4 separate regions of the Homo sapiens genome follow, and all the other regions are linked to region 2. The links are contacts of gene promoters, found by promoter capture Hi-C in human tissues and cell types (Jung and others, 2019). All regions are on one chromosome and are shown on one strand. The core of a region is centred on a gene start or on the middle of the fragment in contact, and the rest is flanking DNA. Distances in the headings are between cores, read along the strand shown.

Evidence for each region. The method cuts DNA at HindIII sites, captures the fragments that hold promoters and counts their contacts. A contact is called where the count stands out against the background at its distance.
Region 1: a fragment that was not itself captured here is called in contact with the fragment with the promoter of AJAP1 in region 2 in 2 of the 25 tissues and cell types used here (dorsolateral prefrontal cortex and hippocampus).
Region 3: a contact is called between a fragment that was not itself captured here and the fragment with the promoter of AJAP1 in region 2, in 2 of the 25 tissues and cell types used here (liver and spleen).
Region 4: a contact is called between a fragment that was not itself captured here and the fragment with the promoter of AJAP1 in region 2, in 4 of the 25 tissues and cell types used here (H1 embryonic stem cells, dorsolateral prefrontal cortex, neural progenitor cells and 1 more).

What each region holds. Positions count from the first base shown.
Region 1 is chr1:4,799,243-4,802,510 of GRCh38, reverse strand. No RefSeq gene overlaps it. Among named protein-coding and RNA genes, the nearest start is that of AJAP1, 150 kb to the right of the region's middle. The HindIII fragment of the contact is 9,800 bases long and covers 1-3,268 here.
Region 2 is chr1:4,653,267-4,656,180 of GRCh38, reverse strand. It overlaps AJAP1 (adherens junctions associated protein 1), which reads right to left and starts at 1,572. Exons shown (of 6, transcript NM_018836.4): 1 at 727-1,572. The coding sequence starts at 755. The HindIII fragment of the contact is 14,001 bases long and covers 1-2,914 here.
Region 3 is chr1:4,838,554-4,841,453 of GRCh38, reverse strand. No RefSeq gene overlaps it. Among named protein-coding and RNA genes, the nearest start is that of LINC02781, 130 kb to the left of the region's middle. The HindIII fragment of the contact is 6,638 bases long and covers 1-2,900 here.
Region 4 is chr1:4,820,640-4,823,928 of GRCh38, reverse strand. No RefSeq gene overlaps it. Among named protein-coding and RNA genes, the nearest start is that of LINC02781, 150 kb to the left of the region's middle. RefSeq lists an enhancer at 2,274-2,864. The HindIII fragment of the contact is 6,733 bases long and covers 1-3,289 here.

The DNA of each region.
Region 1 (3,268 bases), core at 82-2,581, 150 kb before region 2:
GGAAGTCCAAGATCAAGGCACAAGCATCCAGTACTTGGTGAAGGCCTTCTTGCTGTGTCCTCACATAGTCAGTGGGAGGGAAAGTGGGAATGAGCAATGTGCCCTCACATAGCAGAAGAGCAAAAAGAGTGAATTCCCCACCCACCCTGCAAGCCCTTTTCAGAGCAACGTTAATCCATTCATGAGGAAAGATCCTCATGGCCCAAACCCTCTCAAAAGGCCAGATCTCCCAACAGTGTTGCACTGGGGATTAAGTTTCAACATAACTTTTTGGAGAGGACAAAAGCATTCAACCCATAGCAATGCGGGAGAGATGGAGACAGGGGAGGGTTCAGAGCCGTTTCTGATGGGGGATCACTGATGCGTGTGGGGAGCTGGCCTCCGCAGGGATGGTGTCTTCATGCCTGGGTGGTCCCCTTGCCTTCTTCGGGACTGGGGAGCTCCCACCTTCTGCTCTGGCTCCTCCATCTTCACTCAGCAGCACATGCATCTTCTTCCTATCTGGCTACCTTCCTGCAGGCTTGAGACAGAGACAACTGTTGTATTGAGTCCAGTGGGTGGTGGGCAAGAGGTGAGCCACCCTGGAGGAGAGTATGGGGTAATAGAACTCTCATGACCTGGCCAGGATCCAGGTGTCTGTTTCCTCCCCAGATCACACCATAAGACCTTCTGCCCCTGTCCAGCCCCACTGTCTTTGTTGCTTTTACACATCACCGCCAGGCCCTGGCTTGGGTTCGGAGCAGCTGTGTGTGGACATTTTCCAGCACAGACATCTGGCTTCCTGGCGAGTACCCCAGTTGGCCGTGGAAACAGCTCTGTGTTTTGCTCCTCCTGCAGGTCCGCCCCCTCGGCCACGGGTCTTCCTCAAGTGGCCTGTTGGTCTGGCTGCCTGTTCTCAAGGCTCCTCTCTGGACTGCTGGCTCTGGTTTAGCTTCCCACTCAACCCTCTGTCTGCATCTCTTTTTTCAAATTCGGTCCTGTTCACAGCACTTCTTTGCTCAAAAGCACAAAGGGCTCCTCTACTCCTGAAGATGTGATTCTGCCCAAGTCGGGCACATCTGAGCCACCTGGGACACCCTCTAACATGAGACCCATTTAATCCGAAAGTGAGCCTCTTGTCCAGGCGACCCAGTGTGTTCCCCGCTGGTCTACAGAATGAAGTCAAAGTGTCTGAGCTCAGCATCAAAGCCTTCCTTGACCCATCCCAACAGCCTGCTGGAAATTGTACCTGGACAAGCTTCTGTGGCAGATGGGTCTCCTTCGTTTCCCAACATTGCTACCATCTACGATTTCCCTGGATACCTTCCCATCCTAGTCTGAATATGAGTCCCTACAGGACTTATGTGTTAATGCTTTATTGCAGGGAGTGTAATTCAGGGAGTGTAATTCTGGGAGTGAGACCGTTTGGAGGAAAGGAAGAGAAAAGGGGTGGAGGAAAACAAATGCAAGTTGGTGGTGAGTTATTGTGCTGGCCACAGCCTCCCAATCACCTTTGCTTGGTCAGGCTGGAATTCTCCAGAGAAACCACCTAGCAATGTCCTCTTTGGAGCAATCCATTAGGGAGAGGAAAGAAGAGGAATTTATCCACACAGCTCCTTCTTTCTTTCCTTCTCTCAAAGTTTGCCCCTCAGTTTAAATGACCTGGCATAGTGTGGCCACCTCTGGGGAAGCTGAGCCTTGTGTTTTCAGAGGGAGCTTCCAGGCACGATGTGCAGGGTGAGCCACAGGCGTGGGCCATGCACTGTCTGCCCACAGCCTGTAGCTGCATCTCACAGCCTGCCCTTGCAGACAGGCACGTGTGTAAGAGCCAGACAGGTTTTGGGGCATCTCGCACAGCTAAGGCGACAAGGAGGGTGGAAGATGGGAGGTGGGGGCATCAAATGAAGCCTTGTCTGGATGCAGGGTGGAGACATAGTGGCTTGAGAAGCCCAGTGAGCGGCTTGTTCAGGGGCCTGACCTCCACCGTGGAGGCCGTGATGAAGCTCAAGGAGGATTTCTCCACCAGAGTCCATCCTCTTCTATGGATTTCATGGACAAGTCTGGTGCCTGAGGACCTTCCTGGAGAGGCATCAACTGCACCGGTAGAATGCCTGCATGGCATGTCCTAGGGAGGCAAATATAATAGGGAAGGCGCAGCATCCTCCCCTCCCATGGGGCCCCTGGTCACTTGGCCTGTAGGCTCCTTCCCCTCTCGGGGCTCCCAGGCCCTGTCCTCTGTAACTTGTACATGCACAAATCACATGCTGTCTTGCATTGTTTATGTATGTGACTCTGTTTCCCTCCCTCTCCCAATGATACTTCTTCCCAGAACTTGCAAGTTCTCAAAGAATTCTGGTGGGAGAAGACACCTCTTCTGGGGGACTAGGCCAGAAGCCACTCAGCCCCCATCAGCCTCTTGTCATTTAGTGTGGTCTTTGGCTGGTAGTTTAGCAGGGAGGGGAAGCATGTGGGCACTGAGGTTGGACTATTTTGGCTGAAGTCAGGCTGTGTGACCAAGAGCAAGTTCCTCAACCTCTCTCTGACTCAGATTCTTCATTCATAAAGCTGGATGACACTAATGCCTACTTCATAGCATGGTCATGAGGAATAAATGAGGCAATGCAAGCCGCGTGCTTGGTGCTAGGTCTGCCGTCTGGAAGGGCTCGAACCCTCTTGTGATGCCACCATGGTGCAGGAGGAGAAAACTCATGTCTCCCTGCAAAGCTGCAGGATCTCTGGCTTCAAGGCGTTCACTCTTCCCCTCCTCACCTCCAGCAGCTACTCCAACAGCGTAGATTTTGTTTTCTTAGCAAAGCCCAGAAGGGAAGCAGAAAGATTCCACTCAAGGGGGTGTTGAGGCTTTCTTCCTAAAGCTCTAAAAGGCAGGCCCCATTCAAACCAGAGAAGGTGACCTTCGGTAGGCGGGGGAGAGGGAGAAGAGAAGAGAGAAAGTAGAGAAAGGGTGGTGTGTGGGAAGAGGGTGAGGAAAAGGGGTGACACACCAGCCCCCGGGTTGCGGATACAAGTGGTCCATGGAGCAGATCAGCCCTCATCTTCCTCCTGCGCCTCCCAATGGCCCTGCACGGGTAGAAAACCTGTGTCACGTATCCTAGGAATGCACAGATATTCCAAGCCTTCCTGCAGAAGAGGAGCCGCACTACCAGTTTTCATCACATTTGAGTTCAACCTAGTTATGTCGCTAATCAGTTTTTATATCCAGGCAAGCTGAATATGATCTTGTGAATTGGGTTGGAGGAAATATCTCTCAGCCACCTCTCCAAAGAGTTCT
Region 2 (2,914 bases), core at 323-2,822:
CTTCCATCTGGCCCTGGAGTCCCAGACACAGACAAGCCCCGGGCGCGCCGGCGGGCGTATGTGCGTGTGTGTTTACAGCGGGGTGGCCGCCGGAGCTCCCCAAGAACCCCAGCTCTCCCGCCCCAGCTGCCCGCCAGCTGTGAGCGCCCGTCGGGCCCGGAGGTCACCCGCAAACAGCTGGGTCGGCAGCTGGGAGCCTGGGAGGCCCCTGCTCAGCCCCGGGGCCCCGAGAAAGGAGAAGGGGGAGCGGAGTGGCTGTTTGGCTGTGGTTTCCTCCAACTCCGCCTGCGAAGCTCTCGCTGGGAGCCCGGAGCTTTAGCTTTCCCCGGCAGCCCCGGCCCCCGCGCCCGCCGCGCCCAGCGGCCGGCGCCTCGCCCCGGGCCCCGGGGAGGAGGCGCGCCGGGGCAGCCGGCCAGGACACTGCGCTGCTGGCTCCTAGAGCTGCGGGCGCGCCTGGCCGGCCCCACTTCCCGGGTTGCTGGGGCGGGCGCCGCTGCCCCGACCCCGGACGCGCGGAACCCTGGAGACCCGGCCGCTCCCCGCCAGGGCCGCGGTGCTGCTCCAGGCTCCGGGCGGGCGCCCCTTTCCGGCTACCGGTGCACCCCGTTGCCCGCTTGCGGGAAGCGAAGAGGGGTCCCTTGATTTGCAACATAGAGGAAAGCGCCGCTTCCGCCCAGCCTGGCACCCACGCGCCCACACGCACCCGGCGCCGGCCGGGTCGCTCACCTGAGTCCTAAAAGCTGTTGAATCCACATGGTCACGTTTCGGGGAGCGGGGCCTCAGACCTGGCTCGCCCAGGCCATCTGCGCGGCGCCCGCGCCCGCTCGCTTCCGTCCCGCGGCGCCGGTCTCCGGCTCTCGGTCCGCCGCCTCCCGCCGCCCGCCGGCCGCGGGGCGCACAGCGAGTCAGAGCGCGGCCGCGCGGGGCTCCATGCCGGCCGGCGCGCCGCCGCCGTTGGGGCGCATGGCTCAGGCTGGGCGGCCCGCGGGGGCGCACATCCTCCGGCCGGGGCGCGGGGCTCGCGGCCCCCTCCGCCGGCGGCACAGCGAAGGCGGCAGCGAGGCGGGGCGTGTTCCGGCGCTGTCGCGGCGCAGCAAAGGGCTGGGGAGCCGCGGCTTCGCCCTCCGGGGCGGCGAGGAGGGAGGCCGGCGGCGCTGCCGCTCACGGTGCGTGTCTCCCGGCGCGCGGCTCTTGCCTCCAGCCGGAGCTCCGCGCCGATGGGGCGGCGCTGCTTAGGGTTTGGGGTGACGCGACGCGGACGGACGCGAGTCCCCTCCGCGCTGCCGGGTCGGGGGGCTCTGCCAGAGGCTCCGCCGCCGATCGGCGCCACTCAAGTTGCCCGGGGGCTCCGTCTGAGCGCTCGCTCTGCAGACGGCCGCGGCCCGGAGACTGGCAGGAGGCGGGCACGAGAGGCGCGCGGGGCGAGGGCGCCGTGGAGCGCGGGGCGTGGGGACGCGCGGCGGCGGCGCCGCGCGGAGGAGGCGCGCGGGGATCCCGGGGCCCCGCCGCCCGCGCCCACCGCGCCCGCCGCAGAGCCGCCCGCGCTGCTCAGCCGCCTCCCTCCTCGCGTCTGCCTCTCCGCGCGCTCGCCCCCGCCTCCCGGAGCCGGTCCCAACTCCGCCCGCCCGGCCCGGCTCACGTCACCCGCCTTCCCCGCCCCTCGAACGGGAGCTCGAGCCCCTGGCCTGGCCCCGGCTCCTGCTCGCCGCCCCACCTTGCGGGGGCCGGGGTCGCCGCGGGTGGTGGGGGGCGCTGTGCCCAGCAGGGGCGACAGCGCAGGCGGGGCCTCCTGCAGCCCCCTTCCCCATCCCCGGTCGCGTCCCGGTCCCCACCTTGCGAAAGGCTCGAGAGAGGCCGCAGGCTAGGATTGGACCGCCGGGCGCCGCCGGATGGTGTTGCCAGGGTAACCGGATGGCACGCGAAGCCGTTCGAGGTTCCGACCCGGTTACGGGGGCGCCCAGTGGACCCGGAGAGCTACTTTGGGGAGGGGGCGGCCCCGAAGAAGGACTGGGTGGGGGCGCATGGAGCGGGGGCTGCGCGAAAAGTTTCCTGGGGCGGAGCTGAGCCACGCGGGCCGCGCAGGAGCGTCTGTCCGAGGGTCGCCTACGAGGGACTCCTCTGCTCGGCTGCGCGGGCTTCTGCGTTGATGAAGTCACCGCGTTCCGGGTCGGAGCTTCGGCGCTTCTGCCCCGAACCCAGCGAAGCCCGGTCCTATGCCCCCAATTACCCAACGGTCCCTCATCGCCCAGCGCAGCTGCTGCCTGGCCAGGCCCTTGCTCCGGAGGAGTCACTGGAAAGTTCCAGGGAATCTGGGCCTCCCGGACTCTCCACCGGCGTTTCACTGCTCCCTTCCCATGCCAGGACTCCTCTGTGCCTACCTGGTTAGTCTGTATTTGCAAAAAACAAACAAAAACAACAACAAAAAACAAATGGGGGGCACTTAAAGGAGGACAGACGCTGGGCGGGGACCTTTCACTGAGAGAAGTGACATGGGGCGGAATCCTCTGCAGACCCGCTGACGCCTTGAGAAACCACGGCAAAACCCTGCTTTTAATCCTCCACAGGCTGAGGGCAGTGCAGAATCCGGGCCTTGGAAAGGACACTGGTGCCACCCTTCACTGGGGAAAGGTGCAAGGGGCGGGGGATATACCATGCCGAGCCTTCGCTCTGTGCTCTGTGCAGGTGCTTGACCCAGGCCAGCTCTGGAATCGCCCCAGGCCATGTGAGAGCCGTGGGGGGTGAGAGGGGCGGGAAGCACTTCACAGGTGAGGCCTCCCTGGGAGGGGCAGCCAGTGAGGGGGTGGAAGGGCAGAGCCAGGAGGACCATGGCTTGGGGCTCAGTCTCCCAGGCGAACCATAGCTTGGGGCTTAAGTCCCCCAAGCAGCCCTTTCACCCCCAGGCCTCCAGGATCTT
Region 3 (2,900 bases), core at 271-2,770, 190 kb before region 2:
GCAGGTAGAATTCCATTCCTGGTGCATGTATGACTGACTGAGGCCCTCAGCTCCTAGGAGCTGGCTGTTGTTCCCTGCTAAGTAGCCCTTTCCACATCATGACAGTGAACTTCCTTCCCAGACAGCAAGAGAACATCTGCTACTTTGTGTCTCTTTTAAGAGTTCACCAGATGACATCAAGAGCAGACTCCCTTTGATTAACTCAAGATCAATTAGTTTGAACCTCAACTACACCTACAAAATTTCTTGACTTTTGCCATATGGTGTCATCTAATCACAGGAGTGACATCCCATCATATTCATAAATTTTGTCACATTCAAGGGGAGATGTACAGGCCATGTACACAAGGGGTGGCAATTGTGGAGGTCATGTTAGAATTTTGCCTACCACCCATTAGGAAAAAAAATCAATTTCAGTTCTACACCTTTGATGATTTCCATCTCTGATAGTTTCTGGTATGGTTTGGCTGTGTCCCCATCCAAATATCATCTTGAATTGTAGCTCCCATAATTCCCACGTGTAGTGGGAGGGACAGAGTGGGGGATAATTGAATCATGGGGGCAGTTTCCCCTATATTGTTCTCATGGTAGTGAATGAGTCTCATGAGATCCAATGGTTTTATAAGGGGTTTCCCCTTTTTACTTGGCTCGCATTCTCTCTTGTCTGCCATCACGTAAGACATGCCTCTCACCTTCTGCCAGGATTGTGAGGCCTCCCCAGCCACGTGGAACTGTGAGTCCATTAAACCTCTTTTTCTTTGTAACTTACCCAGTCTCAGGTATATCTTTATCAGCAGCATGAAAATGGGCTAATACAGTAAATTGGTACTGATAGAGTGGAGAGCTCTTGTAAAGATACCCAAAAATGTGGAAGCAACTTTGGAACTTGGTAATAGGCAGAGGTTGGAACAATTTGGAGCACTCAGAAGAAGATAGGACAATGTGGGAAAGTTTGGAACCTCCTAGAGACTTGTTGAATGGCTTTGACCAAAATGCTGATAATTATAAGGACAATGAAATCCAGGCTGAGGTGGTCTCAGATAGAGATGAGGAACGTGTTGGGAACTGGAGTAAAGGTGACTCTTGCTAAGTTTTAGCAAAGAGACTGGTGGCATTTTGCCCCTGCCCTAGAGACTTGTGGAACTTTGAACTTGAGGGAGATGATTTAGGGTATCTGGCAGAAGTTTCTAAGCAGGAAAGCATTCGAGAGGTGACTTGAGTGCTGTTAAAGGCATTCAGTTTTAAAAGAGAAACACAGCATAACAGTTCAAAAAATTTCCAGCCTGATTATGCAATAGGAAAAAAAAATATTTTCTAAGGAGAAATTCAAGCTAGGTGCAGAAATTTGCATAAGTAACAAGGAGCCAAATGTTAATCCCCAAGACAATGGGGAAAATGTCTCTAGGGCATGACAGAGACCTTTATGGTAGCCCCTCCCATCACAGGCCCACAGATGTAGGAGGAAAAATTGGTTTCGTGCCTGGGCCCAGGTCCCCTCTGCTGTGTGCAGCCTAGAGACTTAGTGCCCTGCATCCCAGTCACTGCAGCCATGGCTAAAAGGGTCCAAGTTACAGCTTGGGCTGTGGCTTCAGAGGGTGCAAGCACCAAGCTTTGGCAGCTTCCATGTTGTGTTGAGCCTATAGGTACACAGAAGTCAAGAACTGAGGTTAGGGAGCCTCTGTGTAGATTTCAGAAGATGTATGGAAATGCCTGGATGTCCAGGCAGAAGTTTGCTGCAGGGGAGAGTCCCTCATGAAGAATCTCTTCTAGGGCAGTGCAGAAGGGAAATGTGGTGTTGGGTCCCGAACATAGAGTCCTCACTGAGGCACTGCCTAGTGGAACTATGAGAAGAGGGCCACTGTCCTTCAGATTTCAGAATGGTAGATCCATCAACAGCTTGCACCGTGTGCCTAGAAAAACCACAGACACTCAACACCTGCCCTTGAAAGCATCCAGGAGGGAGGCTATACCCTGCAAAGCCATGAGGGTGGAGCTGCCCATGACATGGGAACCCACCTTTTGCAGCAGCATGACCTGGATGTGAGACATGGAATCAAAGGATATCATTTTGGAGCTTTAAGATTTGACTGCCCCATTGACTGTCCCATTGGATTTCAGACTTGCATGGGGCCTGTAGCCCCTTTGTTTTGGCCAACTTCTCTCATTTGGAATGGCACCGTGGACTTTTGAGTTATTGCTGAAATGAATTAAGACTTTGGAAGACTGTTGGGAAGGCATGATTTGTTTTGAAATGTGAGGACGTAAGATTTGGGAGAGGCCAGGGTCAGAATGATATGGTTTGGCTGTGTCCCTGCCCAAATCTCATCTTGAATTTTAGCTCCCATAATTCCCACATGTAGTGGGAGTGACCCAGTGGGAGATAATTGAATCACAGGGGCAGTTTCCCTCATACTGTTCTCATGGTAGTGAATAAGTCTCACAAGATCTGATGATTTTATAAGGGATTTCCCTTTCGCTTGGTGCTTATTCTCTTTTGTCATGGTGTAAGATGTGCCTTTCACCTTCTGCTATGATTATGAGGTCTCCCCAGCCACTTGGAACTGTGAGCCCATTAAACCTCTTTTTCTTTGTAAATTACCCAGTCTTGGGTATATCTTTATCAGCAGCATGAAAACGAACTAATACAGTTTCCAGTGCCATTTGGTTAAGAACTTGAAACTTTCATGCTCATCTATTAAAATGAAATAAATATCTGCCCTCCCTGCACAGTTCATTTGGGGGTGCTTTGCATTGTGGGCAGTAAAAATCCCAGCTCAGGTAATATAACAATAAGAATAATCTGGAAGTAAATGATTTTCAATTATGGTTTGGTCAAGGAACCAGCTCTACTTCTCTGTGATTCTGTTTTTTTATTGTTCCCTCTCCATGCAAAGGCTGAC
Region 4 (3,289 bases), core at 150-2,649, 170 kb before region 2:
ACATGGTGAAACCCCATCTCTACCAAAAGTACAAAAATTAGCTGGGTGTGGTAGTGGGCACCTATAATCCCAAATACTCGGGAGGCTGAGGCAGGAGAATTGCTTGAGCTCAGGGGGCGGAGGTTGCAGTAAACCGAGATCACATCACTGTACTCCAGCCTGGGCAACAGGAGTGAAACTCCATCTCAACAACAACAACAACAAACCAAACAAATATTATACAGGTGTGGTGGTGCATGCCTGTAATCCAGCTACTCAGGAGGCTGAGGCAGGAGAATAGCTTGAACCTGGGAGGCAGAGGTTGCAGTGACCCATCATCACACACATATATATATGTGTGTGTGTGTGTGTGTGTGTATATATATGTACACGTATATATACGTATATATACATATATACATACACGTATATATACGTATATATACGTGTATATGTATATACGTATATAACATCTCAGGAGCTGGGCAAGTGGGTTCAAGCATGCACACTAAGAGGCAAAATGGTGGAGTTTAACTGGTCTATGACTCCTCCTAGGGACATCTGGTAAGAGAAGAATGCCTCAAGTGAGTATGTACACAACTGTAGTAAACACACTGCACATGTGATACCCCCTCTCCCTGTAAGTGCTGGCAGCCACTGTGCATGCGGACAGCCCACCCCAAGGGAAGAATATATATACGTATATATATACACATATATATATGTAAGCTGTAACCCGACCCCCTCAGGCACTTGTACTCAGGACTTCTTGAAACTGTGTGCAAGCCATGGTCACTCATATTGGACTCAGAATAAACTTCTTTAAACATTGTTAATAGAAAAACATTAGACAAATTAAATTTAACAGAGTTTAATTGAGCAAAGAAAAAAAAGAATGATTCTTGAATCGGGTAACCTCCAGAATCACAGCAGATTTAGAGAGACTCCAGGGATGCCTCTTGGTCAGAGCAAATTTATAGATTAAAAAAAGGAAAGTGATGGACAGAAAACAGAAGTGAGATTCAGAAGCAGCCGGATTGGTTACAACTTGGCATTTGCTTTTATTTGAACACAGTTTGAACAGCAGCCTATGAGTGGTGAAAGTCTGGCTGCTGAGATTGGCCGAGACTCAGCCACTGAAGCATCCTCCTAAATCAGGTGTCTAGTCTCGTCTGCTTACTAAGTTAGGTTACGGTTCATCCTCAAGGACTCAAGTATGGAAGTATGGAGGCTTTCTCAGGCCATATTTAGTTCTATTTAACAATATTTTACAGGGTTTGGCCTTTCTCAACACTGGCCTGAGGACTGTGGGCATGTTATGCCACGGTCTCTGCTCGGGGGAGCCCTTGGAGGCTTCTAATTGCAAACCTCGAGTTGTGAGTCTTTTCCTGCTATGTACTTCAAATAATACCCAGCTCCCAGTGAGCACCAAGGAAAGGTCAGCTGTTACTTGGTATTATTGTTCAGCAGTGGCAAATCCACATGGGTCTACAGCAGCCTCAATTCTTGCCTCCTCAGAAGAAAGAATTCAGCTAAGGGGCATAAGGCAGAGGGAGACAGTGAGGCAAGTTTTAGAGCAGGAGTGAGTTTATTAAAAAGTTTTAGAGCAGGAATGAAAGGAAGTAAAGTACACTTGGAAGAGGGCCAAGTGGGTGACTTGAGGGATTCAAGAGCACAGTTCGACCTTTGACTTAGGGTTTTATATGTTGGCATACTTCCAGGGCCTCGTGTCCCTTCTCTCCTGATTCTTCCCTTGGGGTGGGCTGTCCGCATGCACAGTGGCTGCCAGCACTTACAGGGAGAGGGGGTTCCACATGTGCTGTGTGTTTACTAGAGTTGTGTACATACTCACTTGAGGCATTCTTCTCTTACCAGATGTCCCTAGGAGGAGTCATAGACCAGTTAAACTCCACCATTTTGCCTCTTAGTGTGCATGCTTGAACCCACTTGCCCAGCTCCTGAGATGTTATCGGAAGCTGCTGATCATGAGTTTCAGATGTTTCTATCTATTGGGGATACTGCTTTTCCCTGGCACTGGCTGCAACCAATTATTATTTTAGAGAAACAGTTTAACCACTGCTTGACCATCAGTGATTGTTGCCTGATATTTCTGGTTGGGGTTGTAGGGGCCAGGGGCGCTCTCTCCTGCCCTGCGTATGTCTGACCAACTACCTTCGGTAACATTATTATTAATGAATTACAGAAGATAATCTTTCTCTCAATCTCTCTTTCTCTTTCTGTCTCCCCAAACACCATCAAATGATGGGGTGCCTTGTCACCACTGCACGCAGTCATCAGGGCTAAAGCCAGAGGGGAAGAGTCTGGCTTCCCTCATGGTATTAGTCTGGGCCTTAGATGGGTTGGTAGGGTGGAGGGGGTCTGTGAATCCCCTCAAATAGCCCACAGTTTGGGCTCACGTTACCTTCTCTGGGGAGGGAATCCATGACTTTTCTCAAATAAGCAAAAAGTACAAAAGTCCCCAAGAGCCGCCAATTCCTGCTCCACTGGCCCTCCCTGGGACTTCAGTTTCCCCCATTAAGGCACTGAAGTTCCTATCATTATGCAAATATGTTAATAGAATAACATTTCCACCCATCAGGAATCATTAACATGAGTTAATCTACAAATTTAGAATAAGAAATGAAGAGGACAGGGATCCTAGGGGAACAGCCTGACTTCAATGTGAGAAGAACCTTGAAGGGCTTCCTTCAAGCCTGGACATTAACTCTCTCTTGACCAAGAAGAGGCCACATGTGTCTCTGCGCCTCCAGTTTTCACATCCGCAGAAGGAGAGGGCCAGTACAGAAGACCCTCCTGTGGTTACATCTTCATTTTAGTGTCTTTTTTAGGACAAAGCCTCTCATGTCCATTATAAATCCTTTGCTCTCTCCCTGGGAGGGGCCCTGGAGCAATGACTACCTGTAGCTTTGATTCCAGCTGCATCTGGGCATTCCCATGGGAAATCCAGGAGGTGTGCTTGGGAGAGCTATGGGACCTGGCCAAGGACCACAGAGAGGAAAGGTCATTCTCTGGGAGCTGCTTTTCAGGGTCTCTTATGGGCTCTGCACTTCCCTGGTTGGCTGCCTGCCTTTGGAATCATTGATGTCCATGGAAGTGATGCCACTGGCATTGTGCAATGTGCTCCCCATGCCACTGTGCACTGGTGGCCCTGTGTGTTTAACGCTTTCAATGACCACCCCTATTTTGCTGACATTGCTTAAATTTTTAAGTCATGAAATATAATATGTGTAGTGGAGCAAAAAATGACTTTACCCTTCTAGGTTCCTTGGCTGGGCTACAAATTAAATTG